2 separate regions of the Homo sapiens genome follow, and region 1 is linked to region 2. The links are contacts of gene promoters, found by promoter capture Hi-C in human tissues and cell types (Jung and others, 2019). All regions are on one chromosome and are shown on one strand. Each heading gives the region's core, a stretch centred on a gene start or on the middle of the fragment in contact. The rest is flanking DNA. Distances are from core to core; before and after follow the strand shown. Region 1 holds the start of C11orf24 (chromosome 11 open reading frame 24). Region 2 holds the start of RCE1 (Ras converting CAAX endopeptidase 1).

What was found. Contacts are between HindIII fragments. The study calls those that stand out against the background at their distance.
Region 1: a contact is called between the fragment with the promoter of C11orf24 here and the fragment with the promoter of RCE1 in region 2, in 1 of the 25 tissues and cell types used here (spleen).

The regions. Positions count from the first base shown.
Region 1 is chr11:68,270,472-68,274,805 of GRCh38, forward strand. It overlaps C11orf24 (chromosome 11 open reading frame 24), which reads right to left and starts at 1,502. Exons shown (of 4, transcript NM_022338.4): 1 at 1,386-1,502. It overlaps LOC105369363 (a long non-coding RNA gene), which reads left to right and starts at 1,631. Exons shown (of 3, transcript XR_950248.3): 1 at 1,631-1,705. RefSeq lists silencers at 1,300-1,699, 3,579-3,638 and an enhancer at 1,611-2,465. The HindIII fragment of the contact is 13,528 bases long and covers 1-4,334 here.
Region 2 is chr11:66,840,852-66,845,277 of GRCh38, forward strand. RCE1 (Ras converting CAAX endopeptidase 1) reads left to right here and starts at 2,590. Exons shown (of 8, transcript NM_005133.3): 1 at 2,590-2,789; 2 at 2,908-3,010; 3 at 3,105-3,188; 4 at 3,435-3,513; 5 at 4,018-4,185; 6 at 4,315-4,386. The coding sequence starts at 2,605. It overlaps TOP6BL (TOP6B like initiator of meiotic double strand breaks), which reads left to right. Exons shown (of 15, transcript NM_001302084.2): 14 at 1,998-2,218; 15 at 2,318-2,665. The coding sequence ends at 2,383. RefSeq lists silencers at 787-913, 2,131-2,270, 2,381-2,820 and an enhancer at 2,461-3,167. The HindIII fragment of the contact is 26,172 bases long and covers 1-4,426 here.

The DNA of each region.
Region 1 (4,334 bases), core at 252-2,751, 1.4 Mb after region 2:
TCCAGGCGTGGTGCTGCATGCCTGTAATCCCAGACACTCAGGAGGCTGAGGTGGGAGGATTACAAGCCCAGAAGTTTGAGTTCAGCCTGGGCAACATAGTGAGACCCCATCTCTTAAAAAAAAAAAAAAAGGGAAAGAAATAACTTAATTCTTTTTTTCTGGCATAGAGAGGTTCCAAAGACCAATCCTGAAGCTTGGTAAAGGACTACAGCTGTTACCCCCACATTCTATCAGGCTATTAAGACTCACTCAGCCGCAACATGGCCAGGCCCCCACACCAAGTTAGGCAAGCTACAGATACCAAGGAGTAGGAACTGCAAACACAAATACAGGGCAAACTGCAGGTACCTAATCCTGACACGTCACCTGGCTGAACTTTGGTAGCAGAAGCCCAAGGAACACAGACTTATGGCTTTGTGTATATAGACATTGTCCTGTAGTCCAAAGGATGTGACTCTGTGGCAGACGGGAACCTAGAACATTGGACATTTATTATATTACATTAACTACCTTGCTTGCTTCCAGGTTTCTGGAAGTTTTGGTAACACAGCTAAATACTAGGGCCTAGTTTTTGCTAAGAACGTGGGTAGCTCTGACATTCCTTTGTCCATTAGGCAGATCCACTGTATAAATGGAAACATCTGTATTTTAAAGATTTTCCTAGCTGATTTTATCGAAATGTTAGAGATTTTCCTGGGGCGAGGGATAGCTGCAAGTTATTACAGTCAGATTTCTAAGCACGATGATTATTTCTGGTGGCAAACCATGCGTGTGGAGGCCGATTCCTCCTATCAGCCTAACGATTAAGTCAACATGCTAAGCAGCCACACGGGGGCTACTAAGTGACTCGCACGGGGGAAGCAGGCAGGGAGACAGATGGGCAGGGGAGGGAATCTGGGGCAATGCACAACCTCCACCCAGGTAGAGAGAGGGTCTGGGGGATAGGTCTGTGTCACTCAAGTAAGAGCGACACTTCTTGGGGTCCAGTCCCGTCCTGGGCTTGCCCGGGAAAGACCCCAGGACAAATTCGGCCCCCTTCCAGAGTGTCCCCATTCTGCTCCCACAATGGGACAAGCCGGCCTCTTCTCCAGTCTGGGCCCCCTTCGGCCCTCCTCCCTCCTCCTGTCTCTTGGGCCCCCAGCCATGCTCGGCCCCCAGTTGACTTCTTCAGTACCTGCATTGCTCAGCGTCTTGCACTCTGTGCGTGCCCCATCCGCCGCTCCTCCTGTCCCGTTCCTCCTGCCTCTCTCAGCCCCACTCACTCTCCCACTGCCCCTCGTGCCCCCATCCAACCCTCCTCCTGCCCCCCAACCTCTGTCTCTCAGTCCCAAGCCAGTCAGGGAGCCCTGACAGCAGCTACCCGGACGGCAGTGCGAGCCCCTTACCCGGGCGCAGCAGGCCCCCGGCGGCCTGGTGGCCCTCGGACAGTAGGAAGGAGCCTGAGGCCCGGCGCGGGGACGTGGCCGGCAGCGCAACCCAGGCAGCTCCGGGCAGCGCGCCCTGCCCGGGCCCCGCCCAAACGCCGGAAATGACGTCACGGAGGGCGGGGCGGGCCTGCTGGCCGGGGCGAAGAGCGGCTGCGGCGGGGCCTGTGGCGAACGGAGGCGAGCCGGAAGTGGGGGGGTTGTCTGCTCTCAGGCCCCGCCTCCCCGGGGCCGGCTCGGGCCACTTCTTGCGCGCTGCCAGAAGGAGCTATTTTGAGCAGGTCTGTGGCGGAAGTGGGTGTTCCCGGGTCTCTGCTGCCCAGCTGTGCCCGCTGCCGTCTTGGGGTCCCGGGGTGCGCGGGTTGGGCTGGGTGAGCTCAGAGGCACCTTGTCGGCAGCCGAGCCTGAAGAGGCGACCTCGAAACGCCTCGTGAGACCTTTCGCGGGCACACGCCCTTCGCGTTCCTCCGCTTCCTCCCACGTTTCTTCAGCCCCTGGCGGGGCGCTGGGGTGCCCGGTAGTTAAGGGTGGGGTGGCAGCGAGCGTTTCTGTGCACCCGCAGCGTGCCACGCCCGTGCTAAGCACTTTGCCTATAGAGCCAGTGGCTTAATTCTGCAATAGCACAGTGAAGAACTTCGCCTCATTTTACAGACGTGGAAACAGGCTCATCAAGTGCTCTGTAATTGTAAAACCTGGGATAACAAAGGAGCAAAACGCAATTTAGAGGCAAGTGTGTGGGACTTGACTTTGGTTAGAAATAGGCTTTGCAGGCCAGGCGCGGTGGCTCTTGCCTGTAATCCTAGCACTTTGGGAGGCCGAGACGGGCGGATTATCTGAGCTCAGGAGTTCGAGACCAGCCTGGGCAACATGGTGAAACCCTGTGTCTACTAAAATACAAAAAATTAGCCGGGCGTGGTGGCGTGCGCCTGTAGTCCCAGCTACTCGGGAGGCTGAGGCAGGAGAATTGCTTGAACCTGGGAGGTGGAGGTTGAAGTGAGCAGAGATCGTGCCACTGCACTCCAGCCTGGGCGACAGAGCGAGACTCTGTCTCCAAAAAAAAAAAAGAAAGAAAGAAATAGGCTTTGCAAGTTAGTAGTTCTGTGACTGAATCCCAGTCTGTATAAGACCCTCAGGCATCCCCCGGTCCAAACCAAAACCTGTCTGCGAAGGATGATTTCACAGGAGCAAACCAAGACTTTATTTCCAGTTTTATAACCTGCCTTGGGGTCTTCGGCTAGGAAGCTAAGAGACACAGAAAGCTGAGATTGGGCAAAGACAGGATCTACCATCCACTCCGAGCTCTGGGAGCACCTGAAATGCGATTTGATGTCACCACCACCATCCCCAGTTCAACCACAGTTCATGTGTGGAATTTAACCTGCAAAGTTGGGTTTGCTGAGACCCAACGCCGGTTGGATCATGTGAAGATCAGATCCTTTCACTATGTATTTGCTTTAATTTTTCCAACTAGTTCGGATCTAACATGAAGTACAGTATTGAGGCTCACTCCAGAAGTGAAAATATACAATCGGCAGGCAGATTTTAGTTCTTTGCCTGCCCTTTTCAAAAATCAATGACTGGGCTGGGCGCGGTGGCTCACGCCTGTAATCCCAACATTTTGGGAGGCCAAGGCGGGCGGATCACCTGAGGTCAGGAGTTTGAGACCAGCCTGACCGATATGGTGAAACCCGTCTCTACTAAAAATATAAAAATTAGCCAGGCGTGGTGGCGTGTGCCTGTATTCCCAGCTACTCGGGAGTCTGAGACAGGAAAATTGCTTGAACTTGGGAGGGGGAGGCTTCAGTGAGCCGAGATCTCACCACTGCACTCCAGCCTGGGCGACAGAGCGAGACTCCTTCTAAAAAAAAAAAAAAAAAAAAAAAAAAAAATCAATGACTGTGACTCTGTTTTCATTTCCTCTTTGGCAACATAGGGACAATTTTTACTGCTGGGGCTGAAATTACAAACATAAGACACAGCCTCTCCTCTAGAGCAGCTGGGCAGCTAGACCTCCATCTGCTTGCTTTTTTTTTTTTTTTTTAGACACGGAGTCTTGCTCTGTCGCCCAGGCTGGAGTGCAGTGGCGCCATCTCGGCTCACTGTAAGCCCCGCCTCACGGGTTCACGCCGTTCTTCTGCCTCAGCCTCCCGAGTAGCTGGGACTACAGGCGCCCGCCACCACGCCCAGCTAATTTTTTGTATTTTTAGTAGAGACGGGGTTTCACCATGTTAGCCAGGATGGTCTTGATCTCCTGACCTAGTGATCCGCCCGCCTTGGACTCCCAAAGTGTTGGGATTACAGGCGTGAGCCACCGCGCCCAGCCCATCTGCTTTCTTAAATTTCTATTGGAACAGAGTCATGCCTCTTCATTAGGTATTATCTGATGATAAAAGGGCACAGTCGACTAGTTGTAGAGACTATATGGCTCACAAGTCCTAAAATATTTACTCTCTGGCCCTTTACAGAATCTATTTGCTGATCTCCAGTCTAGAGTGTTACTGATGGGTTTCTGACACAGAAATATCTGGCTGAGATGGTCCAACATACCGGGAAACTCATTCTCTCCTATGAGAAAGTCATATTCTCTGATAGCATCTTTGGTCACCTGAAACCTAGTGTCCATTGAAGGCACAGCTCTGGGAACTGCAAAACTGTTCTGTGGAGTGTTATGGAGAGTAAAGCCAGGCAGACCAGCTGCTTCTGAGGGCTGTGGATAAAATAGAGAATGATACACTTACATCCTCTACCTTTTGTTTCCAGGCACAGATCATTTCAGGTGCCTTCTGTGCAGAAATAGCTGAATAAACTTGGAGCTTGGTCTCTTTGTTGTTGAATTTACAATGTTATTTGAATGTAAGACCTTGTAGATATGACATTTGAAAGTTAGGGCTCTGGAATGGCACTGCCTGG
Region 2 (4,426 bases), core at 1,340-3,839:
TCCTGCTCTCCCACCCAGCTATCTTCCATCCCAACTGTTGACCACTGCCTCTGGGCTCAAGACTCTCAAATTGGTATGACCAGCCAAGGCCTCTGCTGAGTGCCAGCTGGGAGATTCATTTGCTCACTAGGCAGCTCCTCGTGGAGGTCCCATTGGTACCTCAGTTTCCTCTCTCCTGACTAAAGAGACTTTTAGTCTGTTTCATGATTAATCCAATTTATCACATCTGAAATCTTGGATTCATTCAAGAGGCCTCTCATTTTTTTTTTTTTTTTTTTTTTTTGAGACAGAGTCTCCCTCTGTTGCCCAGACTGGAGTGCAGTGGCGTGATCTCGGCTCACTGCAACCTCCCTGCCTCCCAAGTTCAAGTGATTCTCTTGCCTCAGCCTCTGAGTAGTTGGGATTACAGGCGCCCACCACCATGCCCAGCTAATTTTTGTATTTTTAGTAGAGACGGGGTTTCACCATGTTGGCCAAGCTGGTCTCAATCTCCTGACCTCGTGATCTGCCCGCCTCGGCCCCCCAAAGTGCTGGGATTACAGGCATGAGCCACCGCGCCCGGCCAAGAGGCCTCTCCCACATCCAGGCGCTCACAAAGGCCTATCACTTAGGCCTGATGAACACTTCTGATTCCTGGTGACGCCTCTATCTCCACTGTCTTTACTTGTTATTGGGCTCTTAAGGTCTTCCTGTCTCTAGTTTGATCTAAGCCACACCTTTGAAAGAACGATCTTTCTGAAGTACAAAATTACCAATATATTTCACCAGTGCTTAAAACTCTTTATTGGCTTCCTGTCTTCTACAGATGAAAATCTGTTTCTAGCCAGGCAAGGTGGTGTGTGCCTTTAGTCCCAGTTACTCGAGAGGATGAGGCCGGGAGTTCAAAGCTGCAGTGAGCTACAATCACGCCACTGCACTCCAGCCTAGGTGACAGGCGAGACCTCATCTTTAAAAAGTAAAAATTTACATAGGAAGTTGTTTTATGCCTTTGCATAAGGTTTGTGTTAACTTTCAGCAAGAAATTCCCTTTCTCTCCCTTGTCTGGCATATCACTCTTCATCCTTCAAAACCCAGCTCTGGGGCAGGAGTGGTGACTTATGCCTGTAATACCGTCACTTTGGGGAGCTGGGGCGGGAGGACAGCTTGAGACTAGCCTGGGCAACACGGTGAGACCCCTGTCTCTACAAGTAAAAAAAATTAGCCGGTGTGGTGGCATGCGCCTGTGGTTCCTGGTACTCTGGAAGCTGAAGCTGAGGCAGTAGGATCGCTTGAGCCCAGGAGGTCGAGGCTGCAGTGAGCCAGGACTGAGCCACTGCACTCCAGCCTGGGCAACAGAGCAAGACCTTGTCTCAAAAAAACAAAAGGTCAGCTCAGGTATCTCCTCATGGAAACCCTTCTTCACATCCAGAGGTGGTCGGCTTCCTTCTCTATTCTAACCCTGGGCTTTGTACACAGGTCTGCATCCCCTCCTAGCATCTGTGAGCTTCTCTCAGGGAAAAGCTCATTGATCTGCATCCCCAAGACCTGCTGGGGAAGAATCTATCCATCTAAACTCGCTTTAATTTGACAAATGAATCAGTTAAGAGTAGGAAAGCTGCCTATGGGCACTGCTCAATGCAACGTGAGCAACAAAGGGAGACAGAACTGAGGCCAGAAAGGTGAGGGGGGACAGAGGCTGGCAGGGAGGGGAGCTTGTCAGTGCAGACTCCAGGAAGAATCTATACAGAAAGTTACTGAGCGGCCTGAGTCCCCCAAGTGAGGGCTCGGGACAATCTCCCGCCTGGGTGAGAGAATAGGGAGACCCTGAAACGTCTCTGCAGCCTCGGGCTGCTCCAGAAGCGCCCACAGCTGCAGGGTTTTGGTGTGGATGGGACCTGCTGACAGGGATGCGGTGGGAAGAGCCCCTCGGCGCCCGTTCTCCCAGGCTTCCCCTTGGCCAAGGGTGCTCCTAGCACAGGGCCATGAAAGTAAGATGAAGAGGCTTGTTTTTCTCCTAGATACCAGCGGGCAAGCAGAAAACAAGAGGCTCAAGAGGGGCAGCCCCCGCATAGAGGAGATGCGAGCTCTGCGCTCTGCCAGGGCCCCGAGCCCGTCAGAGGCCGCCCCGCGCCGCCCGGAAGCCACCGCGGCCCCCCTCACTCCTAGAGGAAGGGAGCACCGCGAGGCTCACGGCAGGGCCCTGGCGCCGGGCAGGGCGAGCCTCGGAAGCCGCCTGGAGGTAACTGGGCGAGGGCCGCGCAGGGAAGGGCTCAGCAGGAGGTGCAGGCCACGGGCCGCTGCTGAGAGGTCCTCACCCCGGGCCCCCTTGTTCCCGCAGGACGTGCTGTGGCTGCAGGAGGTCTCCAACCTGTCAGAGTGGCTGAGTCCCAGCCCTGGGCCCTGAGCCGGGTCCCCTTCCGCAAGCGCCCACCGATCCGGAGGCTGCGGGCAGCCGTTATCCCGTGGTTTAATAAAGCTGCCGCGCGCTCACCAAGTCCTCTTCCGCGTCTGCTTCCGCGTCGGGCCCGGGCGGGGCGGGGCGGGGCGTGGAGCCGCGCCGCGGCCTGACGTCACCCACACCTCCCTGGGACTGCGTCACTGGTGCGCGCCGCGGGTCAGGGCGCAATGGCGGCGCTGGGCGGGGATGGGCTGCGACTGCTGTCGGTGTCGCGGCCGGAGCGGCCGCCCGAGTCGGCGGCGCTGGGCGGCCTGGGCCCCGGGCTGTGCTGCTGGGTGTCAGTGTTCTCCTGCCTCAGCCTCGCCTGCTCCTACGTGGGCAGCCTCTACGTCTGGAAGAGCGAACTGCCCAGGTGCGGGGGCTGCGCGCGACCGGAATCCGCGCCCTGCGGGCGGAGCTTGGGCGAGCCGGGGGCGGGTCCGTGCTCATGGGCAGCCGCGGGCCCCCTGAACTTACTGTCCCCTCCGTAGGGACCATCCCGCGGTCATCAAGCGACGCTTCACCAGCGTCCTGGTGGTGTCCAGTCTCTCACCCCTGTGCGTGCTGCTCTGGAGGGAACTCACAGGCATCCAGGTGCGAAGGAGGCGGGGCAAAGGGCAACGGCGGTGAGAGCTCAGGGGTCTTTAGGGGAGGAAGCAAAACTGATGCCCCCTTTCCTGTGGCTCAGCCAGGCACATCCCTGCTCACCCTGATGGGCTTCAGGCTGGAGGGCATTTTCCCAGCGGCGCTGCTGCCCCTGTTGCTGACCATGGTGAGTGCTCCTGCTGTATTTTTTCTTCTGGTCTTTGTTATCAGCCTGATGGGCAGTGCCGTGGACTCTTGTTTTTGGTTTTTGGTTGATGGGAGACAGGACTTTTGAGATGGCCCCAGGGTCCTCCGGTATGCATGGTCTGGAAATCGTGGCTGGAGAGGATTTCAAGCTTGGAGTCTCAGGGAGCATGGGCAAAGGTCTGGGCAAAAGCGGTGGGTTATGGTGAAAGTGTTTTCTTGCCCTCAGATTCTTTTCCTGGGCCCACTGATGCAGCTCTCTATGGATTGCCCTTGTGACCTGGCAGATGGGCTGAAGGTTGTCCTGGGTGAGTCTTAAAGGCTGAAGGGAAAAGTAGGCACAGGCAGTCCAGGACATTGGGGCAGGGAGTCAGCGGGCTCAGGGTGTGATCTGGACACGTGAAATGTCATCTCTCTGGGTGTGTTTTCTCATCAGTAAAATGGAAACATAGAGCTAGGTGGCCTCTAAGGGTTGATTGCCAACGTCCAAGGAGTTCCCTGGGAACCCCCAGCAGTATTTGGTGTGGATCAGAGAGCACTGTCCCCTGCTTCCCCAACCAGAGCTAGTCTTGCTTAAATTTTGGTGTCTCCAGAGTTTACTTCCAGGATGCCCTTGCCTCAGCTAATGCCTTCCATTCAGGTCATCTCAAGACATTGGGTTTATGTTGGGTCCACACCCCCGTCCTCAGCAGTATTGATGCCTAACCTGAGTTTGGCCAGGGTAAAGTTGTGGGAGAGGAGCCCTTGGAGCCTCTGGGGTCTCACTGTCTGACAGCCCGTCACTCACAGCTTGTCCTGAATTCCCTCTGCAGCCCCCCGCTCCTGGGCCCGCTGCCTCACAGACATGCGTTGGCTGCGGAACCAAGTGATCGCCCCGCTGACAGAGGAGCTGGTGTTCCGGGCCTGTATGCTGCCCATGTTAGCACCGTGCATGGGCCTGGGCCCTGCTGTGTTCACCTGCCCGCTCTTTTTTGGAGTTGGTGAGTCTGGCCAGATTAGTCCTGGTGTGTTTTCAGCATGAGAGCTCAGAAGGGGGCTTGAGGTGAGGGGCAGTCCTAGAAGGGAGGCTGGGAGGAATGACTGTGATGTGATTGTCACCTTTTTCCCAGCCCATTTTCACCATATTATTGAGCAGCTGCGTTTCCGCCAGAGCAGCGTGGGGAACATCTTCTTGTCTGCTGGTGAGTCCTGGCTAGCTGGCCTGGGTTAGGGTGTATGATG